4 separate regions of the Homo sapiens genome follow, and regions 1, 2 and 4 are each linked to region 3. The links are contacts of gene promoters, found by promoter capture Hi-C in human tissues and cell types (Jung and others, 2019). All regions are on one chromosome and are shown on one strand. Each heading gives the region's core, a stretch centred on a gene start or on the middle of the fragment in contact. The rest is flanking DNA. Distances are from core to core; before and after follow the strand shown. Region 1 overlaps PCNT (pericentrin). Region 2 holds the start of DIP2A (disco interacting protein 2 homolog A). Region 3 holds the start of FTCD (formimidoyltransferase cyclodeaminase). Region 4 overlaps PCNT (pericentrin).

Region 1 (4,404 bases), core at 580-3,079, 280 kb after region 3:
GCAGAAGGGCTGCAGCCCAAGCGTAGGTGTCTGTGCTTAACTCTTACCTGCCTCAGCCTAACCCACCATGGTCCAGAGCAGCTCCACCCCACAAGAGGCCGGGCTCCCTTTAGGGACCTGGGGATGTGGGCGTCACCTTCTCCCTAACCGCCAGGCTCTGTTGCCTCTGTCTGAAGCCTTGCTAAATGTTGTGGGATGTTTGAACATCTCAGCCGACTTCCAGCTCCGCCACAGACGGCGTCCTCACTGACCCTGACCGCTACTTGATGTTTGGTGCATGTTCATAAAAGGGTATTTTGACTAAGAATATTATAATCTGATCTAATTTAGAGTTTTAGTTAAAGTGATTTATAATTTTTTTTTTTTTTTTTTTTTGAGACCGAGTCTTGCTCTGTTGCCCAGGCTAGAGTGCAGTGGTGCGATCTCAGCTCACTGCAACCTCCACCTCCCAGGTTCAAGCAATTCTCCTGTGTCAGCCTCCCAAGTAGCTGAGATTACAAGTGCCCGCCACCACACATGGCTAATTTTTATATTTTTAGTAGAGATGGGGTTTTGCCATGTTGGCCAGGCTGGTCTCAAAATCCTGACGTGATTCCGCCCACCTCAGCCTCCCAAAGTGCTGGGATTACAGACATGAGCCACCGTGCCCGGCCTAAAGTGACTTATAATTTTCATAATGGTATAGTTGGATAGAGTTATCTTCCGGAATGTCTCATTTTTTTTTCTTTTGTATTTAGGCTATTTTGTTTGTGATTTGCTTTATTTTTTATAACTTTTTAAAAATTATTTTTAAATTTACATACAGTAAAATTTGCCCTTTCCTGGTGTAGTGTCATACAAGTTCACACACACACACATCCCTGTAACCTTCATAAGTAACCACCATTCACAGAGCACACAGCGATGGCCCCCCCAAAAAGAGCAGCAGGCATCTCCGCCTGCCACAGGCCCTGGCTCTCTCCCAGAAAGGTGTGTCAGTGGAACCAGCCCGTCTGGGACCTCCTAAACTGGCTTTTTTCACTTTTTGGGTTTTTTTTCTGAGACAGGGCCTTGCTGCATCTCCCAGGCTGGAGTGCAGTGGAGCAGTCACAGCTCACTTCAGCCTTGACCTCCCAGGTTCAGGGATCCTCCTGCCTCAGCCTCCTGACCTGCAGTGGTGTCAGCAGCAACCTGTGCACGTCCTCCCGTACACTCTTAAGTCATCTCTAAGATCACTTGCAGCACCTCATTCAGTGTAAATGCCACGTAAATAGTTGTCATCCTGTATTGTTTAGGGTGTAGGGGCAAGAAAAGAAGCACACGTTTGGTACAGACACATCGTTTTTTCTGAATATTTTTCACCCACAGTTGGTTGAATCCATGGATGTGGAACCCACAGCTGTCGAGAGTTGACTGTGCTTGTAGTTACCAGTGGTTGGCATTTCTAGGACCGGAGAATATGAGAGTGTTTAAGGCTTAAAGCTTTGAATTTGGGGTGATTTTACAAAGAATTGGTTTTCTGTTTCTGTTAAAATGTACCTTTTTTGCAATCATACTTCAGCAAGTGGCATGTCGTAATTACTCCATGTTAATTCTTTGGCTGATCACAGCACGGCGTAACCTAGGCCCTGCTGAGGGGGTGCTGAAGTTGAGGAGGGGCCAGGTGTGGTGTGGTCAGCCTGGCCTCCCCGCACATGGCCTTCTCCCTCACCTGCCCCCGGCTGCGTCTCTAAGATGCTCTTGTTGACGAGCAGCTCTGTAGACAGCGCTGGCTGTGCTTCCTTACAGAGGTCGGAAAGGTCTGCTTGGAAGCCAGACGAAACGGCTCCACAGAGTTCCCTGAGGCGCCCAGACCCCGGCCGGCTTCCACCAGCTGCCAGCGAGGAAGCACACACCAGCAATGTCAAGGTAGGAACGGTGCCACGAGTATAGAACTTTGGTGCTTTTTTAAGTCCTGGGTTTGCAAATTGCAGGCAAAGCATTTTTGTGACCACAAGGTTCTCGTCTGCCGGGTGTAGCAGTCACATCACTAAAGGAAAGGACGTTCACAGAATAAACTTCGGCTTGAATTTTGTTTTAATTGTGCACAAATACTGAGTTTCTGTGCTTGTTAAGCGTGGAACGTGGAAGGCTTTGACAAAGTCAGCAAATGGCGGCCTCTGCAGCCTGAGGGAGGCCTGGCCCAGGGGCTTGCCGGGATTCGGCCCAAGATCTGCTGCAGTCTCCTGATGGCACACGGTCCCCACCCCGTGACGTCCATCTCATGCCCAGTTTGGACCTTACCTAAGGGGTGAAATGCAAGAAGCTTCATAGGGGCTCATTTGATGATGCTGTGGAGAGGAGCTTGTGGTCCTAGATCTTGTCTGACAAACACAAATTGATCTTCCAACAGCAAGGTTGTTTCTGGCCACAGATACTGTTGGAAGGCCGATGGCTCTGTGATGATTTGATGGGAAAAAACAATCTGACTCTTTGGAAAGAGCAATGGTGTTAATGTGCTTTTGTCAGCAAGACAGTCTTTGTTTCCTATGATAAAATTTTACTGCTTTTTTTCTTTTAGATGGAAAAATTGTACCTGCATTACTTGAGAGCAGAGAGCTTTAGAAAAGCTCTGATTTATCAAAAGAAGTATCTTTTGCTGTTGATTGGTGGATTCCAGGATTCTGAACAAGAAACACTCTCCATGATTGCCCATTTGGGGGTATTTCCTTCCAAAGCAGAACGGAAAATCACATCTCGTCCTTTCACCAGGTTCCGCACGGCCGTCAGGGTGGTCATTGCAATATTAAGGTAAATGCCATGACGTTCAGTCAGTGCGTTCCGCGTCTGTCTCCGTGAGTGGGCAGCACACTGCATGGTTTTTTGGTCATTTTATTCCTTGAAACTCCATAATATGTTCTTTTTAAAGATGAATGGCATTTGAGGCCTTAGAGAAAATACAGATGATGAACTTGTCTTCAAGAAGTCATGTGTATGAATCTCTCACCTTCTAAAACTAAAGATTTAAGGGCACCTTTGTATTACAGAGGAACATCTTGACTTTTAATGGGTTTCGTGCCACAAAGAACGTGCTGAATTTCTAAAACTGTTTTTCCCCCTAAACACTGTGCGGCTGTGCCTGCTCCCTGATGCCACAGAGGTGTTTCCCAAGGCCACGCGCGGGCCTGTCTGGAGTAGCAGATGCAGCAGAGAGCAGCTAGGAATCCCGCTCCTTTCAGAGACCAGGTGCCGAGCCAGTTCAGTCATCGCGGCTGCAGGCTGGGCCAAAGTGGGGTGCAGGCGAGGCCTCCTGGGTTGCTGTACTCTCAGCTTCTCTGGTCCTGGGGCACTTTGTCTCCTCGTCTCTGAGCTCCCCTGACCGTAGGCCTCCACCGTCCATCCTTCCACCCACCCATCTGTCCATCCTGTGTTCATGGGGAGAACACCCTGCAGGAGGAAGCATTTTAGGCACTAGATAGGGGAGGTAAGCAGACCCAGATCCTACCTCCTGTCGAGGAGGGGAGATCTTTTGAAGGCAGTGGTGTCCCAGAAAGGAGCAGTCTCTGTGTCCCTGTGAGGGCACTGCCTAGGGTAGCTGCCACCAAGGGGCCTTGACAGGTCTTATGGAGGAATCGGCAGTGTCTGCTATGCCTCAAAGGAGGGAAGCCACAGGCATGATGCTTGTTCCGAAGGCCATCCTAGCAGGGCGTCTGGGGCCCTGCACACTGACCTGCATGCCCTCGTCACCTGCACTCTGCATGCTCACCATCTGACGGACTCCTGCGAGGGCTGGGGTCTCCGTGTTCTGAGCCTGTCCAGTGGCATCTGTGACAGGATGAAGATGGGAGGGTCCTGCACACCAGGCGGGAGCGGCATGTGTTTCCTAGTCACTGGTGTGGCCGGCTGACTTTGAACTGGAGTCGTCCTGAGCTGGGCCATGGTGGGTGTCTAGGGGACCATATGGTCCACGGTGGGGCCGCAGTGAGGCTTTGTCAGGTGGTTGGGCATGGGAAGGTCGCCGCCGCCGGCAGCCCTGCGAGCACTTTGGATGTGTGCACCCGGCATGCCAGGCCCGAGTCAACAGACTGGCCGACCTTGGCGTCCTGGTCCCCATGGGCAGCGAGGCCCCCATTCTGCTTGTTTGGTCACAGTGGGGTTTTCATTGCTCTTTCCCTTCCTGTCTTGCCGTACTTTTAAGTGTGTCTTGTCTCTTTTTTTTGTAGATTACGTTTTTTGGTTAAGAAATGGCAAGAAGTAGATCGGAAAGGAGCTCTGGCACAAGGCAAAGCCCCTCGCCCAGGTGGGACTCCAGCTGCTGTTGACCGCTGGACTCACAAACCTTTCTTTCTACTCTTGTTTTTCATTCACTTTGGGTCATTTTTCAGTGTTGATGGGGACGTAATAAAGCACGGTAAGAAAATCCGTGAATTCCGTCAGAGCAGTCGT
Region 2 (4,650 bases), core at 634-3,133, 300 kb after region 3:
GACACATACCTGTAGTCCCAGTTACTTAGGAGGCTCAGGTGGGAGGATCGTTTGAGCCCAGGAAGTTGAGGCTACAGTGGGCCATGATCCAGCAACTGCACTCCAGCCTGGGCAACAGAGTGAGACACTGTCTACGAAAAAAAGGTTTAAGGCAGTTTGGGGAGTCAAAACCTTTGAAGGCATCTACCCAGGTATCTCCAACCCATGTATGACGGGCTTTTCTTTTCTTTCTTTTTTTTTTTTAAAAGACAGAGTCTCACTCCTGTTGCCCAGGCTGGAGTGCAGTCACAGCTCACTACAGCCCTGACTTCCAGGGCTCAGGTGATCCACCCACCTTAGCCTCCCAAGCAGCTGGGACCACAGCCGTGGCCACCATGCCCGGCTAATTTTTTGTGTTTTCAGTAGAGATGGGGTTTTGTCATGTTGCCCAAGCTGGTCTTGAACTCCTGAACTCAAGCAATCTTCCCGCCTTGGCCTCCCAAAGTGCTGGGATTACAGGTGTGAGCCACTGTGCCCAGCCTCATCTTTTCTTAGCAGGGATCCAAACTTAGTGGAAGAGTATTGCCTTGTTTGGGTGTTTTGCTATTTTTGGAGTTCAGTCAAACAGGGATGTTAATTCCTGGGCCTGGTTCTTGTCTTTGACCTGCTGCAGTAAATGAAGCTTCTCTATATGTAACGGGACAGATTCACTGGCTTACAACTGTTTGTTGCTTGCCTTCAGCTGACCACTATTCTTAAGAGTCTCGGTTGGCACTAAGCAATAGCTATCCAATCCCCCTTTCCTTCCTTTTATCTACTACGTTCACCATATATGAAATGTCTGATACTTCACCCACTCGTGGATTCCATTTCACTAGTTCACCCTCCTACTTCACCACTGGTGAGTGATGCAGCCTCGAATCCCATCTTCTCACCAGCTTTAATGCTGCAGAATGGTTTCTCCAGAAGCAGACGCTGCGACTGAGTTTGGGGTACGAGGATGTTGACATGGTATCAACACCCGTGAAAGGAAGGGGAAGGAAGCAGGACTGGGCGGAGGAAGAAGGGTATGTAAGTCCCGCAAAGCTTTGGCCAACCTCGTGTGGAGCTCTGGAACGAGAACTGCTGAAGTTCGCCAGACTCGGGCACTCCTGCCTAACTCAGTAACAGGCGGGCGGCATCGGGACACGGACACGCTGCTCAGGCCCCGCCACAGCCACCCTCGCACCGTCAGACACACTCCCACACATTCGGGGAGCAGGGCCTTCAGGACGCCGGCGGCGCCCTCTCAGTCTAGCTCCGCCAGGCCCCTCGTCCGTCCTCCCGCCCTCCAAGGTCACCTCGCGGTCCGACATGGCTGCTGGGGCTCCTTCGGGGCCAACGATGTGTACTTCTAGGGCTGTTTTTTAAAGCAAAGGAGTGAACACAGGTAAAGGCACGAGAAAGGTGCCTCGACGCCACCACGGACTGCGCAGCGTTCGCGATCAGCACAGCCCGAAAGGGAAGACAGCGGTCAACGCGGACGCGCCATGGCGCGGGGACCAAGGAGGAGCCCCGAGAGGGGCGGGGCTGGCCGGAGGGCCGCGCGCGGGGCCACCAGCGGCGCCTAGGGGTCAGCGCCAACGCCCACGGGTTGGTCATCCCCACTTAGGCGCCTCGGGCCGCAACTAAGCAGCCTGCCCGCCTCAAGCCCGCCACCCTCAAGCAGGCCCAGCGCAGAGCCTGTCGGGAGCGGCGCTCTCCCGCCTCTCCCAATGGGAGCCCGGAGCGGCATCGACGCGTCTTCGGGGCCAATGGAAGCGAGGCTCTGGTGTTGCTGGGCGGGGCCGGGAGGGCTGCGCGGGCCCGAGACCCACTGCGCACGCGCGCTCGCTACCCGCCCTTCCCGCCGCGCACGCGCTCCCGTGTAGGGCCGGCCGGGCGCTCAGGAGCGCGCGGGGCAGCGGCGGCGCGGCGGAGCCATCCGCGCTCGTGCCCGCGCGGGTGCGTTGCTGTCCTGGCCGCGCCCCTGTCCCGCCGCCTCCCGCTCCTCGCCTGGCGGATGTAGGTTGTTGGCCTGAGGGGAGCTACGTAGCCGAGGTTTGCGCTGCCGCCGCCAGGCCCGGTCCGGTTCCAGCCTCTGCCCGGACGCTAGCCGGCCTGGCCATGGCTGACCGCGGGTGCCCGCTGGAGGCGGCGCCGCTGCCTGCCGAGGTGCGGGAGAGCCTGGCTGAGCTGGAGCTGGAGCTGTCGGAAGGTGAGCCGGACCCCGCCCTCAACCCCCGCGACCCGCCCTCAGCCCGGTCCCCCGCGCAGCCCCTCACTCCGGGACCCCCGCGCGGCCCCTCACTCCAGGACCCCCGCCCTTCACCCCCGGGACCCCCACGCGGCCTCGCCCCTGGGACCTCTGCCCCTCAACGGGACCCCGGTTCCTCTACCCTGGAACCCGCCCCTCGCCCCGGAGACACCGTTCCTCAACCCTAGGACCCCGCCCCTCATGTGGGACCCCAGCACGACCCCTCGCCCCGAGACCCCGGCCCCTTACCCCCGGGAACTCCCGCCCCTCACCCCCGGGACCTCCTGCCCCTCACCCCCGGAACCCCGCGCGGCCCCTCACCCCGGGGACCCCGCCCTTCACCCTGGGAGCCCCGCGCTGCCCCTCCGGACTCCCGACCCTCAGCCCCGGGACACCCGCGCGGCCCCTCAAACCAGGGACCACTGCCCCGCCTCTCATACAAGGACCCCTCCCCCATACAAGGACTCCTCCCCCCAGGCCCTTCACACCTGGGACCCTTACTCCTCACCCCGGGACGCCTGCCAAACTTCTGGAGACCTTTCCCTATCCCCAGCTGCTCCCCCAATGGGATCCGACCCCAAGGACTGGCTTTGACTAGGTCGTTTGGACAGGTGTGAGAATCTTGAGAGGAATGACCACTTTTGCCCCAAGCTGTGAGCCCCGCTTTTCTCAAGGCTGTAGGTCTGGGCTTGGTCTGGGCTTCACCAGGATGACTGCGCCCGTTGTCCGCAGGCAGCTACTTCCCTTGGAGCTGGGAGCCCTTGCCGCGCGCCTCATACTCTAGGAGCTGCACCCTGTGCCTCATTTTATTATCTATAAAGTGGGGTTATACCAGCACTTTCCATTTTGGATTGTTATGAGGCTAAAATACCTTAATATATGCAAAGCACATAACACTTAGGAGTTGTTAGCCCCCTCATGGAATTTTTTAAAGTAAAAAAAAAAAGTCGTATAAATGGTTGGTTGATAAAAATAGACTGGAGTAATCTGGCTTCAGAGGTGGTGGGTGGCATTTCCCATTTGGATGTTATCCCTTTCAAGGCCTGTGTCCTGATATTCCTTTTGGCTGTCTTTGGGAAAGAGTTAAGTTCTTCTCCAGTGTCAGAAAGGACTTGCAGTCCTTGAAGAAAAGCATGTAATTGATTCTTACTCTGTTTTTGAGATCTAAATGCATTTTCAGCTTTTAGAATCCATTTTTTAAATAATCTTATTATCCTTAATTTAAGTTTCAGATTGATAAGATTTTGCTGGGTCTGGGGTAGTTATTTCTCAAAACATCTAAATAATATGCACTAGCATACAGTAAGTCATTTAATCCTTGCCAACCTTAGGGAGGTAGATGCTGTTGTGATCTTGTTTTACATATAATACAACATGTACTTGCAACTATTTTGAATTCAGCATTCAGATTTTTAACAATGTTGTGACATGTGGCACATTTTTTTTTTTTGAGACGGAGTCTTGCTCTGTTGCCCAGGCTGGAGTGCAATGGCGTGATCTCGGCTCACTGCAACCTCTGCCTCCCAGGTAGAAATGATTCTTCTGCCTCAGCCTCCCGAGTAGCTGGGATTACAGGGGCTTGCCACCACGCCCAGCTAATTTTCGTATTTTTAGTAGAGGCAAGGTATCACCATGTTGACCAGGCTGGTCTCAAACTCCTGACCTCAGGTGGTCCGCCTGCCTCGGCCTCCCAAAGTGCTGGGATTACAGGCATGAGCCACCGTGCCTGGCTTGTGGCACATTTTTAAAAATGGAAGTACAGGCTGAGTACACAGTGGCTCATGCTTGTAATCCCAACACTTTGGGAGGCCACGTTGGCTTGGAGACGGGAGTTCAGAACAGCTTGGGTAACATAGCAAGACTCTGTCTCTACAGTATTAAAAAAAATTAGCTGGGCATGGTGGTGTGCACCTGTAGTCCCAGCTACTTGGGAGGCTGAGGCAGGAGGATCACCTGAGCACTGGAGCACTCCAGCCTGGGCAACAGAGCGAGAACCTGTCTCTTCTCACCAAAAAAAAAAAAAAAAAAAAAAGGAAAGAAATGGATGGATTTGAGAATTCTTGGTGATTAGATGCTCCTAGGCAGTCTGACAAACTTAAATTAGGAATGGGTTTGACAGGATCTACTGTACTGCATTTGTTAAGGCTCTTTAGGGAAAATCACATATACGCAGTTTAGATTCTGTGCATTTCAAACATATTTTTGCGTATTGCTCCTAATTTCTGCTCCAATGTATTCATTATTCCCTCAATTTTTTGTGTTGTAGTTGTGTTTGAGTGCTTGCTAGGCATTGACAATTGAATCCTTTCCTCAAAGAACTTTATAATTTGTGCGACAGAACACAAGTACTTAAATGAAAGAAATGTTTCCTATCTGTTGGATCCATTTATGCTATT
Region 3 (4,374 bases), core at 201-2,700:
GGAGAGCCCAGAGACCTCACCTTGGTGCCTGCTCATGTCGATAAGTCGGGAAGCTACCCGGGCAGCGTTGAGGGCCCCCTCCACCACGCACTCCGGCGGCCCCACGAAGGTGTACACGGTGCGGTTGGTGGAAGGGCCTGCGTCCACATCCAGCAGCACGCAGCCCGGGGTCTGTGTGATGGCTCCAGAGATGGCGTCGATCACCTGGGACACAGGCCCGGCCCCCACACCTCAGTCTCCCCGTTTGAAAGAAGGAAAAGGAGCTTGGAGGTGGCTGCACCCCGAGACACAAATGGGGGCTGAGGAGGCGGGCCAAGCCTTTGGGGGCTCTCCGACAAGCTGAGCTCCCACCGAAAGTGCCCGCACACAGCGGCCGCCCGGGAACCCTCACAGCAGCCACAGTCACTCCAGCCCAAGCACAGTCCCCACAAGGGGCTGCAGGTGGTGCCTCCAGGAGAGACTCACGGGCTCTGCTCCGACAGACAGATGCCAGAGACGTGGCCGGGGATCCAAGAAGGTGACCACAGGCGCAGGTCACAGAGGGGCCGGGACCCCCACCCCCGAGCAGGGGAGGGACAGATCACCAGCATGGGGGAGGGGCCTGAAGGGCCTAGAACCTTCCGGGTGGCAGGACTGCTGGGAGCAGGGGCTCAGCCCCAAATCTTGCCCTGTCCCAGGGCCTTGGTGCTGGCTGGAATCCCGGCATGACGAGGCCTCCCTGCACCCCTGCGGGTGACCCCTGTGGCCTGGTGCTGCGCTCTGGGAGGCCTTCCAGGTGGCCCTTAGGGCCTGCGTTTGTTCCCGGAGGAGCCTGGACCTCAGGGCTGTGGAAGGCGAGAGGCCGGACCTGGGGGCCTGCTGCCCCCTCTGTGCCTACTTCGTTTTGGGTCCAGTGAGGATGGTGGCTGCAGGGTGGGGGCTCAGCAAGCTAACTCCAGTGGAGATGGAGAGGCGGCAGTGGGGACCATGCTGGGCCACCTCGTGTGGCCTCACACAGCCCTTTCAGTCAGTGGCAGGAGCCCCATTTTCAGGGGGGAGCACCAAGGCCCTTTGAGGCCCAGAGATCTGCCCAACCCCCCACCGAAAGCACCCGAAAGGCCCCTGAAGCCACAGCCAAGCCTCAGCCCCCACAAGCACCAGTCGTGTTCCACCCACCCCTGGGTCAGGCACTCCCCAGGGCCCTGAGCCACGGGATGTCCTTGGGGCCCACGGGCAGCGGCTCTGCCCATCCTGGGAAGACGACCCGGGACACCAAGCCCACCACCTCCTCCATGGCCTGGGCCTTAGCCACTCAAGCTGCCCCATCAGCCCTAGATGCTTGACCAGCTCCTCGGGCCTCACCTCCTGGTTCTTCCCCTCCGAAAAGTTGGGGACGCATTCCACCAGCTGGGACATGGCCAGCACCTTGATCCAGATGCTCCTCTCTGGGCAGATGGAAGGACAGGGCCAGTGCTCCGCAGCCGCCGCCAGGGCCTTTATACGCTCACCGGCAGCACCTCCCCACCGGCTTCTCATTAACCAGCAAGGCACAAGGAGCAGTGGGGCCAAGGTCCCTGTGCAGCCGCGGAGTGGGGTGCTGCAGAGCCACCCCGGGTGCTGTTGACCCAGAGGGGATGGCTCCACTCAGCCAGAGTGTGGGTTCCCGGAAAAGAAGCACATGCCAGGGTGAAGGGGCATGTGCCGAGGACCCCCAGGAGCATCAGGCCAGCCTGGCTGGAATCCTGTCGTGACGAGGCCTCCCTGTGCCACTGCGGGTGACCCTCGTGACCCTGTGCTGCCTTCTGGGAGGCCTTCCAGGCAGCCCGTGGGGCCTGCGTTTGTTCCTGGAGGAGCCTGGACCCCTGGGGCTGTGGAGGGCGAGAGGCCAGCATGAGGCCCTGGCTCGCAGCACCCAACTGAGGTCAGCTCAGCTCAGACAGGAGAGTGCAGGGGAGCACGCGTGTGAGAGTGAGTGAGGATACACGTGAGGGCAGGGCAGGGGAACACGTGAGAGTGCAGATACACGTGAGCACAAGGCAGGGGAGCACATGTGTGAGAGCGTGGATACATGTGAGCACAGGACAGGGGAACACGTGTGAGAGTGAGCGAGGATACATGTGAGTGTGGGGTAGGGGAGCACACGTGTGAGAGTGCAGGTACACGTGAGCATGGGGCAGGGGAAGCAAGCATGTGAGAGTGAGTGCAGATACATGTGAGCGCAGGGCAGGGGAACACGCGTGTGAGAGTGCAGATACACACGAGACGGGCATGTGCGATATGGGGGAAGGCAGCTGAGACCCCAGCTCTCCCCAGCTGCTGCTCCCCTGACTACAGGCTCCCCACGAAGTCAGCGGCACCAGGGCCGTGCTCAGAAGGGAGAACTCCTGTCTCCACGTTCAGCCGCTGCCCACTTGCAGTGCTTTTATCATTTTCTCTTTTTTTTTTTTTTGAGACAAAGTCTCACTCTGTCAGCCAGGCTGGAGTGCAGCGGCACAATCATGGCTTCCTGCAGCCTTGGTCCCCAGGCTCAAGAGGTCCTTTCACCTTAGCCTCCTGAGCATCTGGGCCACAGGCACACACCACTACACTGGCTAACTTTTCCATTTTTGGTAGACATGGTGATATGGTTTGGCTGTGTCCCCACCTAAATCTCATCTTGAATTGTAGAGCCCATAGTTCCCACGTCATGGGAGGGACCCGGTGGGAGGTCACTGAATCACGGGGGCGGCTTTTTCCGGTGCTGTTTTTGTGATAGTGAATGGTCTCACGAGATCCGATGGTTTTATAAAGGGCAGTTCCCCTGCACACACCCTCTTGTAAGACGTGACTTTGCTCCTCTTTCACCTTCCACCATGATTGTGGAACTGTTGAGTCCATTAAACTGCTTTTTCTTTAAAAATTACCCAGTCTTGCGTATGTCTTTATCAGACAAATACACATGAGGTCTCACCACGTTGCCCAGGCTGGTCTCAAACTCCTGGGCTCAAGCGATCCTCCTGCCTCGGCCTCCCAAAGTGCTGGAATTACAAGTGTGAGCCACTGAGCCCAGCCCCACTTGAAGTTCTTTTTTTTTTTTTTTTTTTTTTTTGAGACAGGGTCTCGCTCTGTCGCCCAGGCTGGAGTGCAGTGGTGCGATCTTGGCTCACTGCAAGCTCTGCCTCCCGGGTTCACGCCATTCTCCTGCCTCAGCCTCCAGAGTAGCTGGGACTACAGGCACCCGCTACCACACCCAGCTAATTTTTTGTATTTTTAGTAGAGATGGGGTTTCACCATGTTGGCCAGGATGGTCTCGATCTCTTGACCTCATGATCCACCCACCTCGGTCTCCCAAAGTGCTGGGATTACAGGCGTGAGCCACCCACTTGAAGTTCTTAATGGAACCCCAACCATGTGGGCCTTAGGGACCCCACCTCCGTGGCTACTCAGGGGGACTGGGATGAGACAGGAGCCAGGTAAGCCCAGAAACCTTCAGAGGCTGGGAGCACACAGAGTTCCCCAGCCAGGGCTCCACGTCTGGAGGCTGGGAGTGGGGGATGGGGTCAGGGATCTGTGTCTGGAGGGAGACCAGGAGGGGAGGATGGGGTCAGAGCTCTGTGGAGCCTCAAGGGGAGGATGGAGTCAGGGATCCATGTCTGGAGGCCAGGAGGGGAGGATGGGGTCTGTTGAGGGCCGCACTGCATTCCCTCGAGAAACCATCTGCTGAAGGCCTGACCTCCAGCATGGCAGACTGGATTACCCCCAGCACCGCCGACTGGATTGGATGTGGAGATGGACAGGGCGGTGAGAAGAGGGAGAGACACCAGGGATGCACTCAGAGAAAAGGCCAGGAGGACAAAGCAGGGAGGCGGCCGCCTGCAAGCCAAGCAGAGAGACCTCAGACAAACAGAATCTGCAGACACTTTGATCTTGTACTCTGGGCCTTCAGGACTGTGATAGAATAAATTTCTGTGGTTTAAGCTGCTGGGTCTGCGGTACTTTGTGACGGCAGCCGCACACATCCAGGGTCCCGAGGTGCGGGGCACTGGAACATTCTGGCTGTGAGGGTTGCCCACACTGGGCTGGCACCTTCATCCTCGCACCACAGCAGAGTGACCAGAACCATACACTCGTGACCCAGGACGGTGCCAAGGCCAAGACCTGGCCCTGTCCTCCAGCCCAGCAAATCGCCTGTCAGGAGAGAGGGTTGGGGCGGGAGGCCCCGGCAGGAGCTGCATGCATTTCCTACCCAGCTACTGCTGGACCAGGGCTTGGCTACAGCTGAGAACACGAGGGGGAATGGGGCTGGTTGTGACGCCGGCGCTGGTTCTCAGGGGCAGCACTGAGACATTAGAAATGCTGGCAGGTGCTGTAAATAGCTCCTGAATCGGGGACCCTAAGGGACCCCACTTACAGGAG
Region 4 (4,627 bases), core at 1,527-4,026, 260 kb after region 3:
GCACGATCTCAGCTCACTGCAACCTCTGCCTCCCGAGTTCAAGTGATTCTGCAGCCTCAGCCTCCCGAGTAGCTGGGACTGCAGGCATGCGCCACCACACCCAGCTGATTTTTGTATTTTTAGTAGAGACGGGGTTTCACCATGTTGGCCAGGCTGGTCTTGAACTCTTGACCTTAGGTGATCCACCCTCCTCAGCCTCCCGAAGTGCTGGGATTACAGGCGTGAGCCACCACGCCCAGCCTTAGATGGCACCTTTTGATGCACTGTCTGCACCTCGCCTCCTCCAGTCCAAGGCCCAGCGCAGCCTCCCTGGACACACAGCCACCCACCCTTCTCCTCCTTCTCCTCTGGGACACACATCTGTCCACCCTCCTCCTCCTCCTCCTCCTGGACACAGTCGCCCACCCTCCTCCTCCTGGACACACAGCCGCCCACTCTCCTCTTCCTCCTCCTTCTCGACACACAACCACCCACCCTGCTCCTCCTCCTCCTCCTCCTGGACATGCAGCCGCCCACCCTCCTCCTCCTGGACACGCAGCCGCCCACCCTGCTCCTCCTCCTCCTCCTGGACACACAGCCGCCCACTCTCCTCCTCCTGGACATGCAGCCACCCACCCTGCTCCTCCTCCTCCTCCTGGACACACAGCTGCCCACACTCCTCCTCCTGGACACACAGCTGCCCACCCTCCTCCTCCTGGACACGCAGCCGCCCACCCTCCTCCTGGACACACAGCCGCCCACTCTCCTCCTCCTGGACATGCAGCCGCCCACCCTGCTCCTCCTCCTCCTGGACACACAGACACCTACCCTCCTCCTGCTGGACACACAGCCACCCACCCTGCTCTTCCTCCTCCCCCTCCTCCCTGCTGTTTGCTAAATGTGCCCCAACTACTCCTCCAGGCTCTGAAACCCAGAGGCTCTAACACCAGAAGTGCTGGGCAGGTGTTTTATGGTCTCTAGGGTGGCACGGAAGCATGCTTGGTGCTGAAGCCTGCTGAGACCTGGGCTCACCCGAGCCCCTCGCAGCCCTCGTGAGTGTCCCGCACGTCGCTGGGACGTTTCTTGCATGAGTGCAGGTGCCGCCTGTTCCTGGGTCCACACTGCGTGCACCTCATTGGCGTTTAGAGCCTGAAAGATTCTTAATTCCACAGAAATCAGGGAAGGATGGGCCTAGGCCCGCAGTTCTGAGGAGACCCATGAACCTGGTTCGTGTGCTTGTCATGTGCTCTCGGGAAATACATCCTGTGTGGAGAGCCCTTCGCATCTCCTGCGGCAAACAGTCTTGGGGCCCTCATGACAGGAACGTTTCTTTGAATTTTTTTTTTTTTTTTTTTTTTTTTTTTTTGAGACAGAGTCTCGCTCTGTCGCCCAGGCTGGAGTGCAGTGGCGAGATCTTGAGATCTTGGCTCACTGCAACCTCCACCTCCTGGGTTCAAGCAATTCACTGCCTCAGCCTCCCGAGTAGCTAGGATTACAGGCACCCGCCACCATGCCTGGCTAATTTTTGTATTTTTAGTAGAGACAGGGTTTCACCATTTTGGCCAGGGTGGTCTCGAACTCCTGACCTCGTGATCCACCTGTCTCAGCCTCCCAAAATGCTAGGATTACAGGCGTGAGCCACTGCACCCGGCCCAATTTTTTGAATTCTTAAGAGAAAGCTCAGCCCTGCCTGCCAAATTCTTAGAAGTTACACACACAGAAACTCCAAATTCATCACATAAACCACAATTTTGTGTTTTCGGTGCTCAGATATAGAACCTTCCCATCCTTTTTCCCTTGTATGAAGCTTGTGTCCTCAATCACCGCAGAAATAGGTTATGACAGTTGCCTTTTAAGCAAGGAGATGTAAGCCTTGGTTCTGTTTCTCATAGAATTAAATAAACTTGAAATGTGCAGGGCTCATTGTGGAATCACCCGAGTGCTCCGAAACTCCCTGAAATCCACTCATTAACACCAGACAGGTGCGACTCCTGGTGAGCCAGGTATTCCACCGTGCACCTGTTCTGTTTCACCTGCAGGGTAAAGAAAAAGTACTGGAAGATTGTCAGCTGCCGAAGGTCGATCTCGTAGCTCAGGTGAAACAGCTTCAGGAAAAACTGAACCGTTTGCTGTATTCCATGACCTTCCAGAATGTGGATGCTGCCGACACCAAATCTCTGTGGCCCATGGCCTCAGCACACCTGTTGGAGAGCAGCTGGAGTGATGATTCCTGTGACGGAGAAGAGCCTGACATATCACCCCACATAGACACATGTGATGCCAATACAGCCACGGGGGGTGTAACTGATGTTATCAAAAATCAGGCCATAGACGCGTGTGATGCCAATACAACCCCAGGGGGTGTAACTGATGTTATCAAAAATTGGGATTCCTTGATACCAGATGAAATGCCAGATTCTCCCATTCAAGAAAAATCAGAATGTCAGGACATGTCTCTTTCTTCACCGACCAGCGTACTTGGTGGCTCCCGCCACCAGAGCCACACTGCAGAGGCTGGGCCCCGGAAGAGCCCGGTCGGGATGCTGGACCTGTCTTCCTGGAGCTCCCCTGAGGTCCTCAGGAAGGACTGGACCCTGGAGCCCTGGCCCAGCCTCCCCGTGACACCCCACTCAGGAGCCCTGAGCCTGTGCAGTGCCGACACATCCCTGGGGGACAGGGCGGACACCTCGCTGCCACAGACCCAGGGGCCGGGGCTGCTTTGTTCCCCAGGCGTGTCTGCAGCAGCGCTGGCACTGCAGTGGGCCGAGTCTCCGCCGGCTGACGACCACCATGTGCAGAGGACGGCTGTGGTAGGTGCCTGCTCTGCTCCCAGGCCTGCTGTTCCCGTGGGAATGTGGTCTGCCCGGCGCCACGGCAGCTGCCATTGTTTGTTCACCTCCTGACAGCACACACCTCGCAGTGCTGTGTGGGGCCAGCTCTGCAGGACTGGCATCATGGGCGCATTTAGATTATTTCAGTTGTTCAGGTATTTTTAAAATGCCTGAGATGCATTTGCCTGCCTCAGACATACCCTGGGCATGCTTCTCCACTGACGCTGACTCCAACGGGCATAGCCCAGACACGTCTTCGTGTGTGATGGGCATAGGGTTCTTTGTCCAGAATGGTTTTTTAGATTTATTTTTAGGAATGCTTCCTTTTTTTTTTTTTTTTTTTTTTTTTGTGAGATGGAGTCTCGCTCTGTCACCCAGGCTAGAGTGCAGTGACGCAATCTCGGCTCACTGCAGCCTCCGCCTCCCCAGGTTCAAGCAAATCTCCTGCCTCAGCCTCCCTAGTAGCTGGGACTACAGGCACACGCCACCACACCCGGCTAATTTTTGTAGTTTAGTAGAGACGGGGTTTTACCTTATTGGTCAGGCTGGTCTCGAACTCCTGACCTCATGATCCACCCACCTCAGCCTCCCAAAGTGCTGGGCTTACAGGCGTGAGCCACCATGCTCAGCCAGAAATGCTTCATATTTTTAACAGGTTTCACATATGCTAATTAATTTTAATTTATGAGTTAGATCGTATTATTTCTAACATAATCATTTTGGGATTTTGTGTATCTTGAGTAAGATAAAATTAAAAATCAGGTATGGTTGGGCTCATGCTTGTAGTCTCAGCACTTTGGGAGGCTGAGGCGGGAGGATTGCTTGAGCCCAGGAATTTGAGACCAGGCTGGGTAACACGGTGAGACCCTGTCTCTACAAAAAAAACACAAAAAATTAGCTGGGCGTGCTGGTGCCGCCCATGGTCCCTGCTCTTCAGGAGGCTGAGGCAGGAGGATCACTTGACCTTGGGAGGTTGAGGATGCAGTGAGCCAAGATTGAACCACTGCACTCCAGCCTGGGTGACAGAGTGAGACCCTCCCTCAAAAAATAATAATTTAGCAGATACATATTATCTGAAACATCCATATACTATCATTTCATGCAAAACAATTTAAATCTGAAATATTTACTATTGGCTACATTAAAATATTCCTAAAGAGCTGTGGGTGAATCTGATTAAATTGTTGGAAGCATTCGACCTGTGTGTTCACCAGTTTTGAGTTGTTTCATCTGGGGTCTATGTGGGAAGATAAATTCAGGCCTTTGAAAGTTTTCACCTGGCAAAGTCAGCGCTATGATGTAATTACTCATTATTTTATGACCATTTAAAAATCTCTTAACAGGAGAAAGATGTCGAAGATTTTATCACAACATCCTTTGATTCTCAAGAAACATTAAGTTCACCTCCTCCTGGATTAGAAGGAAAAGCTGATAGAAGTGAGAAAAGTGAGTTGGTTATCTTTCATTTTTAATTTTTTATTTCAGTGGTTTCCTAGCACAGAATAGTCAAAAGAATTCCTGCATCCTTTGCCTGGTTCTGCGTCTGCCCCCCGCTGACCTCCACCCCGGCTCTGCGCTTTGTCGGGCGTGCACCTGGGGCCTCTTGACTTCTGAAAACACGCCTGTACCTTTCACAGAGCCAAGGTTGCTGGCCCGGGCCACGCTCCACCCTGGAATGTTCACCCTGATCCAAGGCTGGCATCTCAGCTACAGCTACAGACCTTGCTCAGATTCACCCATTGTCCCAGTAGTGTCCTTTATGGAAAAGACACCCCAGCTCACAGGCTGTGTTCAGGTGTCTTTGGCAGGATGGAGAC

The links. The method cuts DNA at HindIII sites, captures the fragments that hold promoters and counts their contacts. A contact is called where the count stands out against the background at its distance.
Region 1: a fragment that was not itself captured here is called in contact with the fragment with the promoter of FTCD in region 3 in 2 of the 25 tissues and cell types used here (H1 embryonic stem cells and lymphoblastoid cells).
Region 2: the fragment with the promoter of DIP2A here is called in contact with the fragment with the promoter of FTCD in region 3 in 2 of the 25 tissues and cell types used here (lymphoblastoid cells and mesendoderm cells).
Region 4: a contact is called between a fragment that was not itself captured here and the fragment with the promoter of FTCD in region 3, in 1 of the 25 tissues and cell types used here (H1 embryonic stem cells).

Annotation. Positions count from the first base shown.
Region 1 is chr21:46,438,316-46,442,719 of GRCh38, forward strand. PCNT (pericentrin) reads left to right here. Exons shown (of 47, transcript NM_006031.6): 41 at 1-22; 42 at 1,768-1,887; 43 at 2,540-2,769; 44 at 4,182-4,258. Among named protein-coding and RNA genes, the nearest start is that of DIP2A, 18 kb to the right of the region's middle. The HindIII fragment of the contact is 3,958 bases long and covers 1-3,808 here.
Region 2 is chr21:46,457,008-46,461,657 of GRCh38, forward strand. It overlaps DIP2A (disco interacting protein 2 homolog A), which reads left to right and starts at 1,884. Exons shown (of 38, transcript NM_015151.4): 1 at 1,884-2,215. The coding sequence starts at 2,125. LOC124905046 (a long non-coding RNA gene) reads right to left here and starts at 1,706. Exons shown (of 2, transcript XR_007067915.1): 1 at 1,320-1,706. RefSeq lists enhancers at 1,098-1,237, 3,008-3,077 and silencers at 1,478-2,027, 2,218-2,287. The HindIII fragment of the contact is 5,308 bases long and covers 864-4,650 here.
Region 3 is chr21:46,154,129-46,158,502 of GRCh38, forward strand. It overlaps FTCD (formimidoyltransferase cyclodeaminase), which reads right to left and starts at 1,451. Exons shown (of 14, transcript NM_206965.2): 1 at 1,342-1,451; 2 at 21-204. The coding sequence starts at 1,395. RefSeq lists enhancers at 1-520, 521-1,224. The HindIII fragment of the contact is 26,017 bases long and covers 1-4,374 here.
Region 4 is chr21:46,414,051-46,418,677 of GRCh38, forward strand. PCNT (pericentrin) reads left to right here. Exons shown (of 47, transcript NM_006031.6): 30 at 2,019-2,789; 31 at 4,154-4,256. Among named protein-coding and RNA genes, the nearest start is that of DIP2A, 43 kb to the right of the region's middle. The HindIII fragment of the contact is 9,054 bases long and covers 1-4,627 here.